2 separate regions of the Homo sapiens genome follow, and region 1 is linked to region 2. The links are contacts of gene promoters, found by promoter capture Hi-C in human tissues and cell types (Jung and others, 2019). All regions are on one chromosome and are shown on one strand. Each heading gives the region's core, a stretch centred on a gene start or on the middle of the fragment in contact. The rest is flanking DNA. Distances are from core to core; before and after follow the strand shown.

Region 1 (4,981 bases), core at 725-3,224, 41 kb after region 2:
CCTAAGGCCGGGACTTCGATTCCAGCCTAGGCAACATAGCAAGAACCTGTCTCTTAAAAAAAAAAAAAAAGTAGCTTGGCATGGGGGTGCACACCTTCAGTCCCAGTTACTCAGGAGGCTGAGGTGGGAGAATCTCTTGAGCCCAGGAGTTTGAGATTACAGTAAGCTCTGATTGCACAACCACACTCCAACCTGGGTGACAGAGCTAGATGCTGTCTCAGGAAAGGAAAAAAAAAAAAAAAGACAGAAAGAATGGCTAAAAAGGTCCTAAAGGTGGTGATAGACATGAATTCACAAATTTAACGTTCAAGCCTAAACTGGATAATGAAGAAAACCAAGCCCGCTCGCATTGCGATTTGCTCAAAAGAAAGGAAGTACCTTGGAAACAGCCAAAGGAAAATTAACACACTTCATAGAGATGAACAATGATCTGAATTATGATGAACTTTTCTTCTAAAATTATGGAGGCCAGAAGGCAACAGAGCAGTATCTTTAAAGTGCTGAGGGGAAAAGGAGAACTCCTCTCAAACCAGAATTCTAGATGTAACAAAAATACCCTTTCAGAATGAGGCCAAATGAAGAAGATGTTTTCAGATAAAAGAGGAAGATACAAAGAAAGAGAAGGAAAGAAACCATATGAGGTGGAGAAGAAAGGTCACATTTTTAAGTTTTTCATGGCATACTCTGCAGGACTCCTGCAAGAACTTACGGGGTAGGAAGTAGGTTTCCAGGCTCCCACATGGATGCAATTAGAACTTATCTAAATTCCTTCATGTGTTTCATCTCATCTAGGTGCCTTAATGTTTAATTTTATCCATCACTCAGGATCCCACAGTCTAAACCATTACCTGAATTATTGCATCCTTGTCAGGCCTAAATGCAGATTCTTTATCTACCAACAGCAAGATACTATGAATTATAGGAGATGTGTTGTTCTGAAATAAATAAGAAATAAATATTACTGATTAGCTTTCTAATTTTTAACTTCATTAATAGAATTGCCCAATTTTGAGTGGTACTACTTCTGTCATAGTTTCCCAGAGTGCCTACAGTGCATAAAACATGGCTGACTTTGCCCTGAAATGTAAATTATTTGCCCTTATGAATTTTTAATGTAATCAGGTTTATCGAGGTATAATTTACATACAATAAAATTCACCCTTTTTAGTGAATAGTTCTATAAGTTTTGATGAAAGCATAGTCATGTAACCATCACCACCATCAAGACAAAGAACTGTTAAGCAACCCCAAAATTCTCTTGTGCCTCTTCGTAGCCAAGCCCTCTCCTATGCCCAGCCCCTGGCAACCACTGACCTGCTTTCGTCTCCACCGACTTGCCTTTTCTAGACATAAATAGACTCAGGCAGGAGTGGCCTCTCTCACTTAGCATTGTGCATTGGGAACTCATCCCTGTTGTGGAGATCAACGGTTTGTTCCTCTGTTTTGCTGAGCAGTATTCCACGGTATGCCTCACCACAATCTGTTCATCCATTCACCAGCTGAAGGATAACTGGGTTGTTTCCAGTTTTTGGCAATCATGGGTAAAGTCACTATAAATATTGTGTGAACACAAGTTTTCATTTCTCTTGGATAAATATCTAGGAGTGGGATTTCTGGCTCATGTGATAAGTAAGTATTTTCCAGAGTGGCTGTACCATTTTGCATTTCCATCAGCAATACCAAGCATTTGTTACTGTCAAGCTTTGTTACTGTTTTTGTGTGTTTCATTTTGGTTTTCAGTTGCATTTCCCCAGTGATTAATGACGTTAGGCATATTTTTATGTGCTTATTTGCCATCTGTGTATCATCTTCAGTGAAGAGTACTCAAATCCTTTCCCATATTTTATTGGGTTGTTTTCTTATTACTGAGTTTTGAGACCGTATATATTCTATATACAAGCCCTTTATCAGATGTGCATTTTCAATTGTTTCATTGTGGTGAAACACTATCATCATCATTTTTCAGTGTACTGTTCAGCAGTCTTAGGTACATTCATAACGTAGTGCAACCACCACCACCATTCGTCTCCATAACTCTTTTCATCTTGTAAGAGCAAAACCCTGCACCCGTAAAAGAAAAACTCTCCATTACCCCCTGCTCCTGGCACCAGGCAACCATAATTCAACTTTCTGTCTCTGGGATCTGGGCTACTCTGAGTACTCATAGAAGTGGAATGTTTGTCTTTTTGTGATTGGCTTATTTCACTCAGCATGTTCTCAAGATTCATACATGCTGTGGCATATGTCAGAATTTCCTTCCTTTTTAAGGCTGGATAATATTCCATCGTAAAGATAGGCCACATTTTGCTTATCCATTCATCTGTTGATGGGCACTAAGGTTGCTTCTGTGTTTTAGCTGTTATGGATAATGCTGCTATGAACACAGCTGTATAAATCTCTGAAACTCTGCTTTCAATTTCTTGGGTATATACCCAGACACAGTATTGTTGGATCATATGGTAATCCTATATTTACTTTTTTGAGGAACTGCCAAATTGTTTTCCACAATGAGTCACTATTTACTGTTCCCATCAACCGTGCACAAGGGTTCCAGTTTCTCCGTATCTTTGCCAACACTTGTTGTTTTTTTACAATAGCCACCCTAATGGATGGGGAAGTGGTATTTAATTGAGGTTTTGATTTGAATTTCTCTAATCATTAATGACATTGAACATCTTTTCATGTGCTCATTAGCCACATATATATCTTCTTTGGAGAAATGTCTATTCAAGTCTTTTGTTCATTTTTGAATTGGGCAGTTTGGTTTTTGTTGTTGTTGAATTTTAGGAGTTCTCTATATATTCTGGATATTAACCTCCTATCAGATACATAATTTGCCAAAATTTCCCCCCATTCTGTGGGCTGCCTTTTTACTCTGTTGATAGCGTCTTCTTATTTACTTTTTTTGAGACGGGGTCTCTCTCTGTCATCCATACTGGAGTGCAGTGGCATGACCATGGCTCACTGCAGCCTTGACCTCCTGGGCTCAAGCGATCCTCCCACCTCAGACCCTTAAGTAGCTAGGACTACAAACATGCACCACCATGCTCAGCTAATTTTTTTTTTTCATAGAGACAGAGTCTTACTATATTGCCCAGGCTGGTCCTGAACTCCTGGGCTCAAGCAATCCTCCTGCCTCAGCCTCCCAAAGTGCTGGGATTACAGGAATGAGCTACCACATCTGTCTGGTAGTCTTTTGATGCACATTTTTTAATTTTTGAAAAGTCTGATTTGTCCATTTTTTCTTTTGTTGCTGGTGCCTCTGATATTATATCTAATAAATCATTGCCAAATCCAATGTTAGAAAACTTTTGCCCTATGTTGTCTTCTAAACGTTTTATAGTTTTAGGTCTTACAATTAGGTTTTTGATCCATTTGAGTTAATTTTTTATATGGTGTTTAGGTAAGAATCTAAGTTCATTCTTTTGCATGTGAATATCTAGTTTTTTAAGCACCATTTGTTAAAAAAGACTGTCCTTTCTCCATTGAATGGTCTTGGTACCCTTTTCAAAAATCATTTATGTATATGATTGTTAGTTTCATGGCTTTCTACTCTATTCCATTGTTCTATACGTCTGTTTTAATGCCAGTGCCAAACTTTTTTGATTACTGTTGCTTTGTTAAGTTTTGAAATCAGGAACTGTGAGTCCTCCAGCTTTGTTTTTATTTTTTACAATTGTTTTGGCTATTTGGAGTCCTTTGAGATTCCCTATGAATTTCAGGATAGGTTTTCCTATTTCGGCAAGAAACAACAGCTTAATTTTGATAGGGATTGCACTGAATCTATACATCACTTTGTGTAGTATTGATATTTCAATACAATATTAAGTCTTCCAATCCTTGAACATGAGATATCTTTCTATTTATGTCTTCTTTAATTTCTTTCAGCTGTCTTGTAGTTTTCAGTGAAAAAGTCTTTCACTTCTTTGGTTAATTCCTAAGTACTTTATTCTTTTTGATGCTATTGTAAATGAACTGTTTTCTTAATTTCCTTTTCAGATTGCTCACTGTTAGCATAGAGAAGTGTGACTGATATTTGTGTGTTGACTTTGCATCCTGCTACTTTGCTGAATTAACTTATTTTTATTTATTTTTTTTTTTTTGTGGAACTGTTAGGGTTTTCTGCATATAAGATCACATCATCTGGGAATAGAGATAATTTTACTTCTTCCTTTCCAGTTTGGATGCCTCTTCTCCCCCACCCCCCACTTTTTCTTGTCCAATTGCTCTAGCTAGAACTTCCAGTAATATGTTGAATAGAAGTGGGCATTATTGCCTTGTTCCTGATTTTAGATGAGAAGATTTCAGTTTTTTTGCCATTGAGTATGATATTTGCTGTAGATTTTTCATATAACTTTTATTATGTTGAGGTAGTTTCCTTCTATTTCTAGTATATTGAGTGCTTTCATCATGAAAGATGTTGAATTTTGTCAAATGCTTTTTTTTTGGCATCAATTGAGATGATCATGTGTTTTTCCCCCTTCATTCTGTTTACACTGATCAGTTTTCATGTGTCGAACCATCCTTGCATTCCAGGAACAAACTGTACTTGGTCAGGGTGTATAATCCTTTCAGCCTGCTACTGAATTTGATTTGCTAGTATTTTGTTGATGATTTTGGCATCAACCTTCATAAGGGATATTGCTCTACAGTTTTCTTTACTTTTAGTGTCTTTGGCTGGCTTTAGTATCAGGGTAATGCTGGCATCATAGAATGAGTTAGGATGCATTTCCTACATGAATTTCTTTTGAAAAAGTCAATAAGGAACTTACATGCTTGTAAAAAGTTTTATGGAAACTGAGTTTTGGCACTTCACACTGTATCTACCTTGTGTTAGAGAAGCTAACTGAGCTTTAGAGCAACGCACTGTGAACCTTTTTTGGTGAACACTAACAATAAGCATATGTATTCTTTTTTCCACCCTGATGTCACTGCCTTAGGTTTGCTCAGCAGGTGTGCGCTCTTCCAGATTCCTCTTGTG
Region 2 (5,262 bases), core at 2,338-4,837:
CCGGGAACTCAATGCAGCGCAGCTCGGGGAGCTCACAGAGTGCGGTGAAGAGGCGCCGGAGGGCGCGGGCCGACAGCGGGTTCCCGAGGAACTTGAGCTGGCGCAGCCGGTGGCAGGGGCTCAGGCCCAGGATCAGCATGCCAACGTGGCTGTCTACGATGCCACACTCCTCCAGTGTCAGGATCCTCAGCGTCCGGGAAGCCTGGCTGAGCAGCCTGAAGAAGGTCGAGGGGTACAGGCTGACCAGGTTGTGTCCACTGAGGTCCAGCACCTCCAGGTGGGCAGCGTGGGCACAGTCTGCCAAGAAGGCCATGTCCGTGTGGTTCAGGGCACAGTTGGCCAGGTCCAGTACTCGCAGCGGGGTCTGTAGGGGGCTGCAGGACACGGGGGAAAGAGCACAGGTGAGAGGAGGGTCCCAGGAAGGAGCCGAGGGCTCAGGCGAATGGGAACAACCCATTTGTCCATCATGGGGTCAACACACAGTCACGTCCAACCACCGCCTAATTTCATACAGCCTATGAGCTAGGAGTGGTTGTTATATTTATATAATAGTTTGTGAAACGTGAAAAGTTACATGATATTCAAACTCGGTGTCCATAAATAACATTTTACCAGAGCACAACCACGTGCATTCGCTTAGTGTTGGCCATGACTGCCGGCCGCCACGTGGTGAAGTCAGCTATACCCAGAGGTCTGGCTTTTGTCCTCAGCACCTAAATGGTAAGTTTGTTTTGTCAACAGCTGCTTTTGTGTTGTCTGAGAAAAGTGATGCATGTGACCACGAGAACGTCCACTCAGAAAGTGGACGGGGTGGGGCAGTGAGACCACAGGACAGAATGTCAGCTCAGAAAGCAGACGGCGGGGGGCAGTGAGACCACAGGACAGAATGTCTGCTCAGAAAGCAGACGGCGGGGGGCAGTGAGACCACAGGACAGTGCCGCTCCACTCTGACAAAGATGAATCCCGCATGGTTTCAGAGCTGGGAAGGGCCATGGAGGCTTCCAGTACAGCCTTTGACTCACCTGGGAACCCTAAAGACCCCCCAACTTGCCCCACATCCCATATTCTGACTTGGTTGGTGTAGGGCAGCCTAGCTCTAATACAGGGGCAGTTGGAGTGAGACCTACTCTGGTTCTGAGCTAAGGGAGATCTCCAGAGCAGAACTGCATCGGGACATGGCCTCACTGTCCTCGCTGAGCCGGGGGACACAGCTGGGGTCTGCCCCATCCCAACCCTCTCCTTAGGAGGCTGCCTCACTCTTCACCCACCTGCACCTGCACCCACCTGCATGTCCCGCCCAGGACATGTCCCTCCCCACCCAGGACTGGGACCACTGCCAGGTGCCCCTGTCCCACCTGAGAAACCACGCCAGGCATGCCCCCTGCCCAAGGTCCCACCGCAGGGCACCTCTATCCCTCAGGACCCACCGCAGGGCACCCCCATCCTTCAGGACCCACCGCCAGGCATCCCCCACCAGGATCTACTGCCTGGTGCCACCCCAGGACCCACAGCCAGCCACCCCCCACCCCAGGACTCACCACCAGGTGCCCCCACTTCAGGACCCACCACCAGGCACCCCTACCACCGCCAGGCACTTCTCCCCAAAACCCACTGCCAAACGCCCCACCAGGACCCACTGCCATGTGCCCCCAGCCCCCAGAACCCACCGCCAGGCACCCCCCAGCACCTGAGGACCCACCTCTAGGTGCTTCCCCAGTACCTACCAGGCACCCCTTCCCCCTAGACCCACTGCCAGGTCCCACCCCCAGGACCCAAAACTGGGTGCCCCCCGGACCCACCGCTAGGTTGCCCCACCAGGACCCATCACCCGGTGACCCCAATACCCACCGCCAGCTGCCCCTCCTTCAGGACCCACCACCAGGCTCCCTCCCAGCACCCATTGCCAGGCACCCCGTTCCCCAGGACCCATCACTGGGCACCCCCCTTGGACCCACCGCTAGGCACTCCCCCTCCAGGATCCACTGCTGGGCACCCCCCTTGGACCCACCGCCGGGCATCCCCCTCACCACTGCCTGAGGCTGCCTTGGCCTGGCCCCTTCCTAGCTGCTGCCCTCTCTGCCTCCTTCACGCAGATCTGCTGAGAGGATCCTGCATAAGCCTCCTGTCCCACCATGGGGAGGTCCATGCAGCATGGAGCCCAGGCCTCCCTCGAGGGAGACTGGGAGGATCCCGCCCTGTCAGGCCTTCGGATGAGATGGCACCCTTGGCCAACAGCAGCCCTGAGCCAAAGGCACCGACAGGCTCAGATTTCTGAGCTGAAATCGTGTTTGCTGTTTGAAGCCCCCAAGTGTTGGGGTGAGTCGTTCATCAACAATAGACAACTCCTCACACCACGTAGGCACTTCTGTTTCGTCTGTTTGGTAATTTCCGTATTCTCTTTTTTTAACTGGCATTCTCTCCACATCCCTAAGTCACACATGGCAGCCCGCTTCTTTCCTGGTGGCTCTGACTTTCGGTGCTCTTGCCCCTTGGCGGGGCCGCTGTCCTGTGGCTGTGGCCACACCCGGAGTGAGAGGCTGGAGGCCGTGTAGCCTCATGGCCTTGGACATGAGCAGGCCCCTGGACGATCTCTCCTTGCCTCTGCAGCCACCAGCCCGCCCTCAGTCCCCTCCCCAAGACTCACCCAAGCAGCGTCGGGATCTTCCCGGTCAGCGTGGAGAAGGCCACACTGAGCTCAGTGAGCTGCGCCATCTTGCTGAGCTCCCGGGCGATGGAGGCGAGGAGGGGGTCCTCGCCGTCGGGAGTGGAGGCGTAGGTGGGGGGTGCATCAAAGGCCTTGGTGGGCAGGGTGAGCGAGGCCAGCCGGGGGAAGCCCACCTGGGCCAGAAGCTGCTGCACGTGGCCCGCATGCAGCCGCACGTTGTGCACCACCTCCAGCTTGCGCAGGGCACCCGGGCCAGCCAGACGCAGCACGTGCAGGAGCTGGCTGGGGCTCAGGCTGTCCGCCCGGAACGAGGGGCAGTGCACCCGCAGAGGGGCCGGGCCCGCTGGCCTCAGAGCCTGCACCACCGCCTCGAAGTTGCCCTCAGTGACGAAGAGGTCGGCGAGGACCTCGACGGGGCGCCCGGCTGCGAGGGGCTCTGCCTGCAGCTCACAGCAGGTCCTGGCCAGCAGCTGGGTGCGGCCCCACCTGCCCAGCGCCCTCCCGCACGGGCACCGCTGCACCTGCACATCTCGGATGCCCGTGAGGTCAGCCACCCGCAGCCGCCGGCGGCTCCGGTCCTGCAGCACGTGGTCCGCGAGGCCGCGCACCAGCGCCTCCAGGCAGGCCCTGCAGGTTCTGTCGCGCAGGTCCTGGGGGTGGTCGGCACCAGGACCCAGCAGCGCTCCCAGCCGGAACTCCTCCAGGGGCCAGCGCCCCAGCACCGCGCGCGTCACCTCCGCCTGCTCCAGCAGGTAGCTGGCTTTGAACAGGAGTGGGTAGAGGTTGTGGGCCACGCTGTCCAGGCTCTGCCGGGCCACCTGGGGGTGGGACACCAGAGCTTCTGCAGAAATGAAGCGGAGTGACCTCATTGTGTCCATGGCCCGAGACAGGACCGCTCCCCACGACTTTCCCCAAGGCGTGTGCCCTTCACGCCTATCTTTAGCTGCAGCAGCTGTGAGCAGCCTGCCCTGGGGGCCCTGCCACGGGGCCTTATGATCATCTGACTGCTATTTTGGTCCTGGGACACCTGCGTCTGCCCGGCCTCGGGGCACGCAGCCGTTGGGAGCTGCTTGGCTCAGGCACCCAGCCGTTGGGAGCTGCTTGGCTCAGGCACCCAGCCGTTGGGAGCTGCTTGGCTCAGGCACCCAGCCGACACAGAAAGGCAGCCCGTGCCCATGGCAGGGCTGGGCAGAGAAGCCTGTGCTCCATGCTGCAGAAAGCCAGTCTTGGCAGGCGTTCGTGCTGGCGGCCGGTGAGGCCAGCGGGCAGGTCCTGTTTACCATCCAAGCGGGGCTACTGCCCAGCTCTGGGCACCTCCCCCACCAGTCAACGGGGCAGAGAACAGGCCAGGCCCCTGCGCCTCACTCGGTAACCAGTTCCCTTTCCACAGTGGCCTCTGGGGCCGCTCCCACACTTCGCCTCGCATCTGGGGTGAGACGAGTGGCCAGGAATGGAGCTGCTGTTTTGCCCCTTCCCTGTGCCTTTCCTTCTCCCCAAGGACCCGGCGGGGGTGGCTTCCCTACTTTCCATGGGAGAGAGTGGCTGGGAGAGGTGGAGCCTCCCTGATGGCCTCGGATGAGCCCCCAGCTCTCTCTGAGCTGCAGTGTCCTGTCTGCAACCCTGCCGCCTGTGCGGCAGGGAAAGCTGCAGGGAATGGGATACACCTGTGTTGGGGGGCGGTGCCTGATGGTTCACTCCCAGCACTGACCGTGTTGGACAGCTGATGGGTGCTGCACTCACCTCTCCCCGTGACACTGCCACTCAGGGCAGGGTCAGCACACATCGCTGCACACATCACTGCACACATCACTACAGGGCACCACGTGTCCATGGGCTTTGGAGGGTCACGGCCATGAGACAGAGGCTGAGGGAGACTGAGAGAAGTGAGTGACGGAGACTGAGACAGAGACAGAGGGACAGAAACTAAGAGGGAGAGAGACAGAGACTGAGGGAGAGAGAAAGGGAAACAGAAAGAGACAGACTGAGAGAGAGACAGAAAGGGAGAGACAGAGACTAAGAGAGAGAGAGAGAGACTGGTAGGCAGAGACAGAGACTGAGAAAGACAGACAGACGGGGAGACAGAAAGAGAAACAGCAGTGGGAGGGGGAAGGCTGCTGAGCAAGCTTGGAGGGTGCTGGTCATGGGTGCCCCACCAGCCTCCCTGTCTGACCCTCCCCAGTTTGTTCCCTGAGCCTGAGCAATGCCTCTCCCCGGGAGGCGACCCATGCAGAAGGGACTGTGCTCCGTTGTGGGGCCCAGGCACTGTCCAGCAGGCGGAGGTGTGTGTGAAGAGGTGGGTGGGCCCTGACCCCACCCTTCAGGGGTGGCCGCCCTCGGCCAGCCGATGTGGGCCCCCGGGCTCCCCTCATGAGGTGCACAAGAGGTTTCCCCAGACACACGGCCCCTTTCCAGGACCAGATAAGAGAATCTCGAAGGACACAGTAGAAAAACATGTTCCATTGGTTTTTATGATTAAAATTTTTAACAATTCAGTATTGATACAAAGTAAACACTTAACAACAGTGGCAGGTAACGCCATTTCCCAGACACCTTTTGGGTTCTGAAAAGTGGTTTCCAGAACCTTCCTTTACCTACTC

Evidence for each region. Contacts are between HindIII fragments. The study calls those that stand out against the background at their distance.
Region 1: a contact is called between a fragment that was not itself captured here and the fragment with the promoter of LRRC14B in region 2, in 3 of the 25 tissues and cell types used here (mesendoderm cells, spleen and thymus).

The regions. Positions count from the first base shown.
Region 1 is chr5:147,467-152,447 of GRCh38, reverse strand. It overlaps PLEKHG4B (pleckstrin homology and RhoGEF domain containing G4B), which reads right to left. Exons shown (of 20, transcript NM_052909.5): 7 at 849-935. Among named protein-coding and RNA genes, the nearest start is that of LRRC14B, 42 kb to the left of the region's middle. The HindIII fragment of the contact is 5,033 bases long and covers 1-4,490 here.
Region 2 is chr5:189,820-195,081 of GRCh38, reverse strand. LRRC14B (leucine rich repeat containing 14B) reads right to left here and starts at 3,587. Exons shown (of 2, transcript NM_001080478.3): 1 at 2,645-3,587; 2 at 1-374. The coding sequence starts at 3,543. It overlaps LOC124900929 (a long non-coding RNA gene), which reads left to right and starts at 355. Exons shown (of 2, transcript XR_007058670.1): 1 at 355-720; 2 at 2,094-2,354. PLEKHG4B (pleckstrin homology and RhoGEF domain containing G4B) reads right to left here. Exons shown (of 20, transcript NM_052909.5): 20 at 5,116-5,262. RefSeq lists an enhancer at 3,873-3,922. The HindIII fragment of the contact is 15,773 bases long and covers 1-5,262 here.